2 separate regions of the Homo sapiens genome follow, and region 2 is linked to region 1. Evidence: promoter capture Hi-C in 16 types of primary human blood cells and fetal thymus (Javierre and others, 2016). All regions are on one chromosome and are shown on one strand. The core of a region is centred on a gene start or on the middle of the fragment in contact, and the rest is flanking DNA. Distances in the headings are between cores, read along the strand shown.

Region 1 (6,595 bases), core at 3,879-6,378:
ACTTTTTATACCTTATGTCTTTAGATTTTTTCAGCTATTTTCTTAAAAGTATATTTTTTCTATAAATATCCTTTGCTGCGACATTAGAACTTTTATAGCCTGAACAATTGTAGTTGGTGTGTTTCATTTTTTTCAGGTTTAAATAAGGGATTTTTTTTGCAGTGGGCATCACTACGGTCCTTGTCAACAGTGTGAGTGTATCATGTTTTACTTTAAATGTGCGTGCAATACTTCTCCATTATGTTCTGTGCTACCGTGAGACCTGGGTGAAACTCAAAAACCGCACACAGCTACTACATTTTTTTTGTCATTAGAAAATCTACTGTGGGAGCCACATCTTCCTAGACTTGAGCATAAATTATGGAGAATTTTATTTATGTCTATTTATGTGTAAATGTCATTGAAGGCAAAGGTCAAATATTTGTCTGTTTGGAGATCACGGGCACCAGTTGGTCTTCAGGACCTCAGAGACCCTCCGTGGTGCCTTCTGACAGGCGGTGTTCCTGAAGGCCTCCCGTCAGCCCAGGCACCTGCCCTGGCTGAGGAAATAGCATTGCTACTGGATTAGAAATGCCTGTGCTGCTCTGTTAGATTGGTGCTGGAACAAAAGGTTAAGGCTGAAGTCTAGAATGAAAGAAATCCGAATCCCTGTCATTCATGGCCCCTTGATCTGTAGGGTCATAGGTGCTGCCTCAGGGAGTGAGCTGGAGGTGCCTGCAACCTTCCTCTCCTGCCCCGCCTCACCCCTCTTGTGTTTCCTGTTTCTCATGCTTTTTCTAACTTCCTCACCCCTTAGCCAAAAAGGTTTGTTTTCTTTTGTGGATACAGCCATTCTTAAATATCAGTGATGTAAACCTCACTTTATTAAAAAATTATCCATCAAAACAAAACAAAACAAAGGTAAAGAAAATAGACAAGGCATAAGGATTTTTAAAGTTTTGGGTTTTTTAAAAGCAAGAATTGAAATAAAAATAACATAATGAACGAATATAACAATGATTAGCTAAACTATTAATATTTGGTACACAAACTCATTTTGGATAAAAACTGCATTTTCTTAAACATTAAAAAAAGAGGCTGGGTGCGGTGGCTCACGACGGTAATCCCAGCACTTTGGGAGGCCGAGGCGGGCGGATCACGAGGTCAGGAGATTGAGACCATCCTGGCTAACACGGTGAAACCCCGTCTCTACTAAAAATACAAAAAATTAGCGGGGCGTGGTGGCAGGCGCCTGTAATCCCAGCCACTCGGGAGGCTGAGACAGGAGAATGGCGTGAACGTGGGAGGCGGAGCTTGCAGTGAGCCAAGATCGCACCACTGCACTCCAGCCTGGGGGACAGATCGAGATTCTGTCTCAAAAAAAAAAAAAAAAGAAATGATCCCTCCCTAGACCTTATTATCTCATGAGGAAATATAAGGATGAAAGGCACTTTTTTTTAATTTTATTTTTATTTTTATTTTTTTGAGACAGAGTCTTGCTCTGTCACCCAGGCTGGAATGCAGTGGCATGATCTCAGCTCACTGCAACCTCTGCCTCCTTGGTTGAAGCGATTCTTACCTCTGACTGTGATACTTACTATGATCTTAGAAAAATCATTTTTTTTTTCGGACCCCTAGTTTTTTCTTCTGTAAAATGTGGATTATAGTATTTCATAGGGTTTCTTGAAGATATTAAACGCGAAGATTTTGTGAAGGGCTGGGAGAAATGTCAGGAAACATTGTAAAATCTGGGCATGCCTGTAAACAATTGAATTTCTGCTTGTACTTATAGAGGACCATGTTTACAAAATTTTTGCCCATCCAAGTAATTCTTTCAAATAGTGATGTCTGAGTAAGAAAAGTTTGATACTGATTTACTGTCCTCTGGACACTAAAAACCTATCATTCAGAATTAGCTGCATTAACTGTTCTTTAAACATCTTTAGTAAAATGAATTATTATCTTCTCATGAAATTTAAAAGGTACCTATAAGCAAATATCTTTGTGATGTAACAGAGTTTATAGAGAGTGAATGACAAATGGCAGCCACAAAATCACTTGATTACAACTTAGTTCATGCCTATCACCTTCTGCTGGGTAATTAAAACATGCAGAAGGGTCCAACCATAAGCAGCAGAACACAGTAGTGGAGAAATTAAATATAAAGAATTAGTATATGTTGATATCAGGGAGAGGGAAAAATAATTTACGTGGCTACACCACCAAACTCTATATTACATAGAATGTTATATTTGAAAGAAACAGAAATCAGTGTCCTTGGTTTAGTCCTGGAGCCTTTCTCTTCTCCATCTGTACTTGCCTAGTTATCTACACCCAAATTTTCATTCTTCATCATGAATTCAGATTCCTGCCTCCATCTACATGGATGTTTTCAGAAGTAACATAAATTCCAAAAGCCCCAACCAACTAACTCTTGATTTTCCAAATGCCAAATTTTCTCCACTTACAGTCTTCCCCTTCTCAATCCAAGTGTTCAAGCAAAACTCTTGAATTCTTCCTTGACTCTTATTATATTTCCTTCCTACCCTCACCTATCCCCTATACATCTTAACCACCATATCACTTTAACAATCTTTACCACAACCTCCCTGTTCCTAGTCACCATCACTGCCCACCTGCAAGAGTTTCCTACCTGGGGTCCTTCTACACCAGTAAGCTGCCACAGAGTTTATAGAGGATGGGTGACAAGTGGAAATTCTTTACAGTCCTTAATATTGCAGTCAGAGTGATTCCTGAACATGCATGAGAACACACCCTTCTCTGCTCAGAATCCTCCTATGGATTTTCATCACAGAGTCAAAGTCAAAGTCTTTCTGGTGGTCTAGGCCCTGCCACCTCTCTAACTTCAGCTCACCCTATGCTTCCTCCTGCTCATTCATAGCTGTTTCCTTGGTTACATCAAACGAATTCTCACCTCCATGCTGTTTTTCTCCCCTAGTTTTCAATGGGCTCTTCTCTCGCTCATCTCAGGTCTGTGCTGACACATCATCAGTGAGGCCTTCCCTGACTTCCCTCATGAAATAGCAACCCACATTCTCCCCCAATCCAGCCCCACCTAACACTCCATATCCCCCTTCCTGATTTGTTTTACTCCACAGCAACCTACTACCACCATCTGACCTGTGATCCATTTACTTATTAACTATATCTCTGAAAAGAAGATACACTGCATGGTGCCAGAGGCTTTAAAAAAATTTTACTGCTCTTTAGCATGTCATAAACATTCAACAAAGAATTCTTTAAAGAACAAATGAGTCCAACTGCTAACTTACAGATCAAGAAACTCAGTGTCAGGGAGCCCTGTGCCTTGTCTTCTGTCTTGTGGTGACACAGTGTAGAACCCTGTCTAAAACCTTCATCTCCCTCTGCCCATTACCATATTGTCCTCACTGCACCACACTGCTTTTAACTTCCTGAAGGACTCAGAAGTTTCCATAATAATTATTAACTATTAACTTTGTTTTCTTCTCCATAATTCAAACAGAAGACATCCCAATTCTTTTTTTTTTTTTTTTTTTTTTCCAGAGAGGGAGTCTTGCTCTGTTGCCCAGGCTGGAGTGCAATGGCGTGATCTCAGCTCACTGCAACCTCTGCCTCCCGGGTTCAAGCAATTCTCCTGCCTCAGCCTCCTGAGTAGCTGGGATTACAGGCATGTGCCACCATGCCCAGCTAATTTTTTGTATTTTTAGTGAAGGCGGAGTTTCAACATGTTGGCCAGCCTGGTCTCGAAATCCTGACCTCATGATCTGCCCTCCTCGGCCTCCCAAAGTGTTCAGATTACAGGCATGAGAGCCACCGTGCCTGGCTGACATCCCAATTCTTGGGAAAAATATTTGCAAACTATTCATCCAACAATGGATTATTATCCAGAATATACAAGAAACTCAAAAACCTCAAAGACAAAGTAATAATAATAATAATATTTTAAAATGGGCAAATGATCTGAATAGACATTTCTCAAAAGAAGACAAACAAATGTCCAACAAGTATATGAAAAAGTGGTCAACATCATTAATCATCAGGGAAATGCAAATCAAAACCAGAATGAGACACCATCTCAGCCCAGTTGGAATGGTTATTACCAAAAAGACAAAAAAAGTGCTGACAAGGATGTGGAGAAAGAGACCTATTATATACCATTGGTGAAAATGTAAGTTGATACAGCCATTATGGAAAACAGTATGGAGGTTCTTCAAAAATCTAAAAATAGAATGACCACATGATTCAGCAATTCCACTAGTGGGTATATATCCAAGGGAAAAGACATCAGTCTGCACTTCCATGTTTATTGTAGCACTATTCATGATGGCCAAGATGTGAAGTCAACCTAAGTGTCCATCAAGAGATGAATGGATAAAGTGTGGTATATAAACACAAATGAATACTACTTAGTCACTGAAAAAAATGAAATTGCTTCATTTGTGGCAGCATGGATGAGCATGGAGGACATTATGTTAAATGAAATAAGCCAGGCACAGAGAGATAAATACCACATATTCTTATGCATATGCAGGAACTAAACCAGGGTATCTTATGGAGATAGAGAGTAGAATGATACTTATTAGAGGCTGCAAAGGATAGGGGAGAGAAAGGAAATGAAGAGAAGTTTGTCAATGTGTACAAAAGCACAGTTATGTAGACAGAATAAGTTCTAGTATTTGATAGTACAATAGGAAAATTAAAGTTACTGATAATCTGTTGTGTATTTCAAAGTAGCTAGAAGAGAATAATTATAATGTTCCCGACACAATGCAAAGATAAATGTTTGAGTTGCTGAATATGCTAATTACCCTGATTTGATCTTTACAAATTGTATACATGTATAGAAATACTACTTTGTATGCCATAAATATGTACAATTATATGTCAATTAAAAATAATAGTAAAAAACTAAAAATTAATGAAAGATATTCCATTTTGTTCTTACCTCTATTTGTTCAATTATTTTTTCATCTTCTGGCACACTAGGATCTATAACAATGACAATATCTTCAAAGCCATTATTATTCAGCTTAATGAAGGAAGTATTTGACTGGTGCAGCAGGCACAGAACTAAGAGGAAAACAAAACCTCTGAATAACCCCATTGTTCCTCTCTAGTTATTCCTGGCTCAAATGTTGGTTTGTTCAAGAGGCTTTTCTTTTCTTTCTCTTTATATACGTTCCTAAAACTTACCAGTATTGGCTGATTATGGGATGTTGACTGTATAAAGGTACATTACATGAGAAAATACATGACTAATTCACCTGATTGCTTAATTATATGTTACATAAAAGTGACTAAGAGTCAGAATAAATCAGATCATTTTATAAAATGCATTGCACATTTTCCTGTTGGAACACGTTTTCTTTATTGTTGTCATTGTTGATATTCTAAGGGCTCCTTGACAACAGGGATTTTTTTTTTTCAATAGGTTTTTGGGTAACAGGTGGGGTTTGGTTACATGAATAAGTTCTTTAATTATAATTTCTGAGATTTTGGTGCACCTAACCACCCGAGCAGTGTACACTGTACCCAATGTGTAGTCTTTTATCCCTCACCTCCCCCTCCTATCCTTTTCCCCGAGTCCCCAAAGTCCATTGTGTCGTTCTTATGCCTTTGCATCCTCATGGCTTAGCTCCCACTCATGAGTGAGAACATATGATGTTTGGTTTTCCATTTCTGAAATTGGCTGCTGCAAATGCCATTATTTCATTTCTTTTTATGGCTAAGTAATATTCCATGGTGTGTGTGTATGTATGTAGGTATATGTGTATATATATATATCACATTTTCTTTATCCACTGGTTGATTGATGAGCATTTGGGCTAGTTTCATATTTTGCAATTGCAAATTGTGCTGCTATAAACGTGTGTGCAAGTATCTTCTTCATATATGACTTCTTTTCCTCTGGATAGATACCCAGGAGTGGTATTGCTAGGATTGCTGGATCAAATGGTAGCTCCACTTTTAGTTCTTTTTTTTTTTGAGATGGACTCTCACTCTGTTGTCCAGGCTGGAGTGCAGTGGCGCGATATCGGCTCACTGCAACCTCCGCCTCCAGGGTTCAAGGAATTCTTCTGCCTCAGCCTCCTCAGTAGCTGGGATTACAGGCGTGTGCCACCATGCCCGGCTAATTTTTGTATATTTGTTTGTTTGTTTGTTTGTTTTTTAGTAGAGATAGGTTTTCACCATGTTGGTCAGGCTGGTCTTGAACTCCTGAACTCGTGATCCACCAACCTTGGCCTCCCAAAGTGCTGGGATTACAGGTGTAAGCCACCACACCCAGCCCACTTTTAGTTCTTTAAGGAATCTCCATACTGTTTTCCATAGTGGTTGTACTAGTTTACATTCCCAGCAGCAGTGTAAAAGTGTTCCCTTTTCACCACATCCATGCCAACATCTATTATTTTTTGATTTTTTGATTATGGCCATTCTTGCAAGAGTAGGGAGGTATCGCATTGTAGTTTTGATTTGCATTTTTCTGATCATTAGTGATGTTGAGCATTTTTTCATATGTTTGTTGGCTGTTTGTATACCTTCTTTTGAGAATTGTCTATTCATTTCCTTAGCCCACTTTTTGATGGGACTGTTTGTTTTTTTCTTGCTGATTTGT
Region 2 (5,832 bases), core at 3,333-5,832, 560 kb before region 1:
TCTTGATGGCAACACTATCTGAGAGTTAAGTTGACACTGAACACTGAGTCAGCTTGGAAAATGTCCATCAGTGTCAAGGCTACAAAAGAAAATATTAAAACAGGACACCAATTTTTCCCCTTCCCACTGTTTATTTTATAGCTTTTGCATCAGGTAGTCAACTGAAACACTTCAACATCAGAAAGCTGGCAGAATGTTAAGGAAAAGGAGTGATTATCTCTCCAACAGATGTGACAAAATGGTTTCAAGTTGGAAACAGAATTTGCATAAATGAATCAACTGAATGGAGTGGGGGAGGGCAGGGAGAGAGAAGAGAGAAAGTAGTGAGCATCTTCCAACAGGACTATGAGGGAAAAAAAAGGCACTGTTGAGCTGTGTATTTATAAAATAAAAGTCAAAATACACAATCCATGTTTCCGAAAATTACATTCAACACTGCTTCAGAGATGCTCACATACCTGACTCTCAATAGAAAGCTACAAAAACTGTCTAAAAAATGAGATAGACAGCATCAATGTCTCAACACAGGCTTAACAGTAATGCGTTCTAAAGAGTTCATCACCATCAGGGTCCATTTTATAAATAGTACTGCAAAGGCCACAAAGCTGCATGAAATTACAGGATAAATCTGACTAAATGATCATTCATTTCAATCTCTAAAATTCCTGCTCCAAGAAATCAGAAAGCTCCACTCCAGAGGAGCTGAATTGGCAGTGGATTTGAAACAGGGTTGCTTTTCTCCTCAGAAGGCTGCCTAAAGAGTAGTTTAGTTGGCATCATACAGCAACTTTGCATAGGGTAAACGGATGCAAAAACATAACAGCAACTTCTCTGCTTCCTCTGAAAGTAAACAGCACTAATTTATGAAGAGGCCAACTCAAATCATAAAGGAGAAGCACCTGGGCCTCTTAAAGGCAAACCACATAAAAGGTTACAGGGTGCTTCTCTTAAGGATTCTAGGACCATAGGTGTGTTTGGGAATGACCAATGGAAAAATCCAGTTAGATGATTTACACAGATGTTCTCTATGTAGATTTGAATTTAAATTAAAATGCCAGCTATGCATTTGGGAACCAGCTTTTAGTTAAATTCTCTAGCACTTTTAGAATTATTTGATTTTATTAAAAAAGAATCATTGTCTACAAACTGTTTTCTAACAATGCAAATACAGTAAGCAAGTCATCTGCAATATCAAAATATTGTTTGTAAATCACTGATGGCACCAACGATTTGAGGAATTTCCAATAGGACACATATTGAGAAAAAGCAACAGATTATAGGCATTAACCAAATTTTAAGATCAGAAAATTATAAAAATCATTAAGTTTAAATTATCCAATTTTCAATAGCTTAAATCCAATCATCAGGAATTCAGAAGCACCCAATATGTTTGAAGTTGCACAAATGCATATGGATGATAGGAAAGTAATCCCCATGCAATATCTTAAGTGTTGCTATCAGATATATTTAAGTGCTACTTTACAGATTAAGCTGGGTAAAATCAAAATATATTTTACTTCCCATTAGATTTTAAAACAATCACAATAATTTATCAACAGTTGCCATTTCACAGCAATTAGAAAAGAGGAGTTGATACAAGTTGAACAGAAAGGTATCTTTTCTTCTTTTAGGAAATAAACATATATATATATATGTATATATATTTCACATACACACATAACATTATCTTTAAAATTCCAAGTGGTTACTTTTGTATTATAAAAAAATTATCTCCCTATGGTCAAAATACTGAAAAAGCGCAAAGGCTGAAAAAAGAAAACCACATTTGCCACTTTAAAAAAATACATTATTGTCTCAGTGGTTCTATTTATTTAATTGATTATAAAGTATTATGACTCCTAGTACTGTACTGGACCTGATGGAATTAAATACACCCCTTTCTCAGTCTCCAGAAAGGATACTCCTAACCCACCCTAAAATATGATAAAATAAATGCCCCTATTCTGAACTGTTAAACTGGGAAATAAACCATGCCCACCTGGAAACAATATAAGTCATAAAAGTTTATGAATCTGTGGGAGAGACTACACGAATCAGAAAGCAATTCTTTGGATATAAGTTAGGAGCTTTTAGAAGTATATAAACTCTTTTAGGCATCTAGAGTAGAGACACAAAGAGGATTTCTCCATAAATAATGATTTGGCCAGTGCAATGGTTGGTTGCCCATGGTCTGCATCTGGGATGTCATCTGTTTTTGTAAATAAAGTTTTATTGGAACATAACTGTGCTCATTTGTTTACATAATGTCTATTGCTGCTTTTGTGGTAAAATGGCAGGGTTGACTAGCTGTGACAGAGACCGTATGGGCTGCAAAGCCTAAAATATTTACTCTCTGGCCCTTCCACAGAAAGTTTACTGACCTCCTGATCTAGTTCACCAAGTACTGCTCTAGTTACCTAAAAGAGTTAATGCACCTCAAGAAGATTTGAGCATGTGGTGCAAGAATAACTTGCATACTGGGTTTGTTCATTAGCATGTAATGTCAAACCACACCTTGAAGTGGTGCTTTATTTTGGGCGAGGAAATAATTTGTATACACTTTCAGGAAATACCTATAAAAGTCAATTTGAAAAAAGGAAAGAAAAAAGCCAAATTTAAAAAAAGCCTGCCTATGTTCTTTTAATATTTTTATATTATTGTGAGGAAAGGGTGCTAAGATGATTGTTCTGTCATTCTTTTAGTTTTTCTTTAGTTTATAAATGTTTCTTTTGTTTATAAATGTTTTCTCATAAGAAGTGTTCCCTCATGCCCTCCCATAACCTTTAAGGCAATCTACCTAAAATGCTTACAGTATGGTGAAGCCTTATTCAGAAATATTTACTTAAACCATAGGTATAGAATAGCTACCATTTCTGAATAATAATGTAAAATGAAAACAGAAACAGCTTTCAAATTTGAAGAGAAAAGTTTCCCTGACCCTAGTCAGCTAACAAAGCCTATTTCTAACAGTGAACTTCCTGAACTCAAGCAGCTGCTCATGAAGCTTTAAGAGTTCACAGGCATTTCATATTTCAATAGTTGTTGAAACATGGAAGATAAAACACTGAGAGGATATTTATCAAACACAAATTTATATCAAGATTAACTTTTTCAACCAGCTTACAAGCAGACTTTTCCCTTTCTTTGTTAAAAAATGAATGGTATGAAACTATATGTTAAAGATGTTTCTATAATACCTTACATTTACATAGCGCTTTACAATTTTCAAAGTGCTTTCACATGCCATCTCATTTAATCCTCACAACAGCCCTGTGAGGTAGGTACAGCAGGTATTATTATCCTCATTTCAAGATGAGGAAATTGAGGCAAAGAGAGGTTAAGTGACTTGCCCAAGATCACACAGCTGTAAGTGCTAGAGCTAGGACCTGAAATCAAGTTTTTTGACTCCTTGTCCAGTACTCATTCCACTGTAATTACTGCCTCAAGTTATGAATAATGAACTGTGTATCAAAATTGAAAGCTTACTGAAGTTCATTTCAGTGATGTCTTAACAGTAAAGTTAAATGAGAAATACAAGAACAGTAGGTCTGATGGTTTTACTTGACATAAAATTGGTGCAAAACCACTTTTGTCTAATTACTTGTAACCTTTTGGTCCAAATACATAAAATATGCAATATTTACAGCATTTTCCTTGTTTTGTAAATGCAATGCTTTAAAACACATTATAAAGCACCTTAGTAAAAATAGTCTACAGGTAAAAGTACAGAAGAAGTAGGAAAATCCTACCCATACCACAGCTCACTAATGGAGTCATAATACGGAGTCACCGATATCTCAGTTTACAGCTTTACAAATAACCCATGGAGAAACAAATACTAAACTTACTTTTTTGATATTAATGTGTGAAAATCTTAACTAAAACTTCAGACAATCTCAATATTCTTTGAAGTATCTTCCCAGTATTAGATATTGAGGAGGCAGGAATGAGAAATACTGCTTTGATGCTTTATCTTTTTACCATATTAGTCATGATTTAAATTGATTTTTAACACTAATCACCATTTAAAAAATTAAAACCACCTACATAAATATGGGCAAATCCAACTACAGCAGAAACATTTCTTAGCAAATATGATTAAACATTCCAATAAATTTCATGAGACATGACTCACAAAAACAAAGTACACACTGCCAAACAGTTATTAACACAATTCAGTAGAGGTGTATAACCCAAACCCTCAGTGAAGGCAGAAGAGGCAAATGGACTCATCTTAATTCATGGTTAGTTGAAAAAATGCTTTATCAAAAACAAGAGTATCAGAACCTTTTCTGAAATTGTATTTAGCCTTTTGATTAGACCTGCCATAAGTTCATTTTAGGTGATGTATATTTTCTCCCAGGCAGGAGGTTATAACTTTCACCAACGTTTAGCCAGGAAAAATAAAAATGCCTGAAACTTAGAACACTGACAATGCCAGCCAGTATCTACTTCCTTGACGTTACTGTCTGTTTCCTAATTTGGCTCAATACAAATTGTCATATACACCTACTGTCAGCAATCCAGACTGTGGAGCTGAGAACAAAGGTGAAGACAGGGTCAAATTTTAGTTCAAGAATCCAATAGTCACACCTTATACTCAGTTCGACTTAGGGTAAATCTTTTCATAGAAAAAGTTTTGTGCGAGGATGTAGAGGTCTCCATCTTTTTCTCGAACGGCATGGGCTCTGATGAATTGGAACTGCTCTAGTGCAAATTCATAGAACTCATTCTCCATTTTCCAAATATCAGATTGCTGTAGTTTTGCAATGGTTTGTTTAGTGGGGAGTTTCTTCTCTGTGGTTTTCCTAAGATGAGATTTCTTTCCTACTTACAAAGGGGGAAAAAAAGGAAAGGTAAATAATTCTTGGAGAACACACAAAAGATCAATGCCTCTTTATTTGAAGAGGTGGTTAATATGACACATTAAGAACAGGTAACATAATTGTCTTATATAATTCAGGTAAAAACGGAGCCTTGATCAAACTAGAGCCATGATTCAGTCCTTTAGAATGTTAATCCTTAACCTAGTAAAGACTTAATGAAATGTCAAATAGTCAATGTAAGGATTGGCACACAGTAAAGTGTAGGCTGTCACCTCACACACTATATTCTCAAGTGCTTGGTGCTCTGAGACTAGTTTATTTTTGATAAAATACCTATTGTCAAACTGTATTCTATTTTCTCATAATCTGTATTCTCTAAAATTATGTGTTAGAAGCTAGGGCATATGCATCCTCAAGGAGAAGAGTTCCTATGACTGCATCTTATCAAGCAATAGCAAAAAACGAAACAAAACAAAAACACAATTAGCTTATCACTTTCAGACACATGATAATACGGCTGAGGCTGCTAAAACATGGCTTAGGCATACTTCAGTTCCCCTATCACACCTCTACTTCAAAATGGTAGTAGGCAGGACTTATACACAGGCCTAATGTTTGATATCTGGCATTATTGAATACCATACATTTCTATGGCTGGTTCTGTACTTTGTATCATTCCACTATTTCTACAGTGCCTTCTAATTTTCACCTAATTCACAGTTACTCAATTGAAAATAGTGAGCAGAAACCGACAAGATACCTGCCTTTCTGGAGCTATCTGTTGTGTTTCACTGAAGAAACTTCAAATCACATATTTACAAGTTGCAAACCAAAAAACCAAACCAAAGAAAGCTTTAAAAAGAAACCCTTCCTTTATATACCTGTGCGATAGAGTTCAGTAGCACCCCTGAAAAACCGGGGCAATGCTGCCTCCAATAACATGATAAAATCTTCAAGTTCTTCAGTAACTCCCACCAGAAAATATTCATTAATTAGGTTATACTTG

Evidence for each region. Contacts are between HindIII fragments. The CHiCAGO score rates a contact against its expected background, and 5 or more counts as called.
Region 2: a fragment that was not itself captured here is called in contact with the fragment with the promoter of CLCA4 in region 1 in 1 of 17 cell types (naive CD8 T cells); the score reaches 5.2 in naive CD8 T cells.

What each region holds. Positions count from the first base shown.
Region 1 is chr1:86,545,611-86,552,205 of GRCh38, reverse strand. It overlaps CLCA4 (chloride channel accessory 4), which reads right to left and starts at 5,128. Exons shown (of 14, transcript NM_012128.4): 1 at 4,928-5,128. The coding sequence starts at 5,086. It also overlaps the pseudogene CDCA4P2. The HindIII fragment of the contact is 9,510 bases long and covers 1-6,595 here.
Region 2 is chr1:87,103,465-87,109,296 of GRCh38, reverse strand. It overlaps HS2ST1 (heparan sulfate 2-O-sulfotransferase 1), which reads right to left. Exons shown (of 7, transcript NM_012262.4): 6 at 5,708-5,832; 7 at 1-4,827. The coding sequence ends at 4,601. Among named protein-coding and RNA genes, the nearest start is that of LINC01140, 23 kb to the left of the region's middle. The HindIII fragment of the contact is 2,197 bases long and covers 3,484-5,680 here.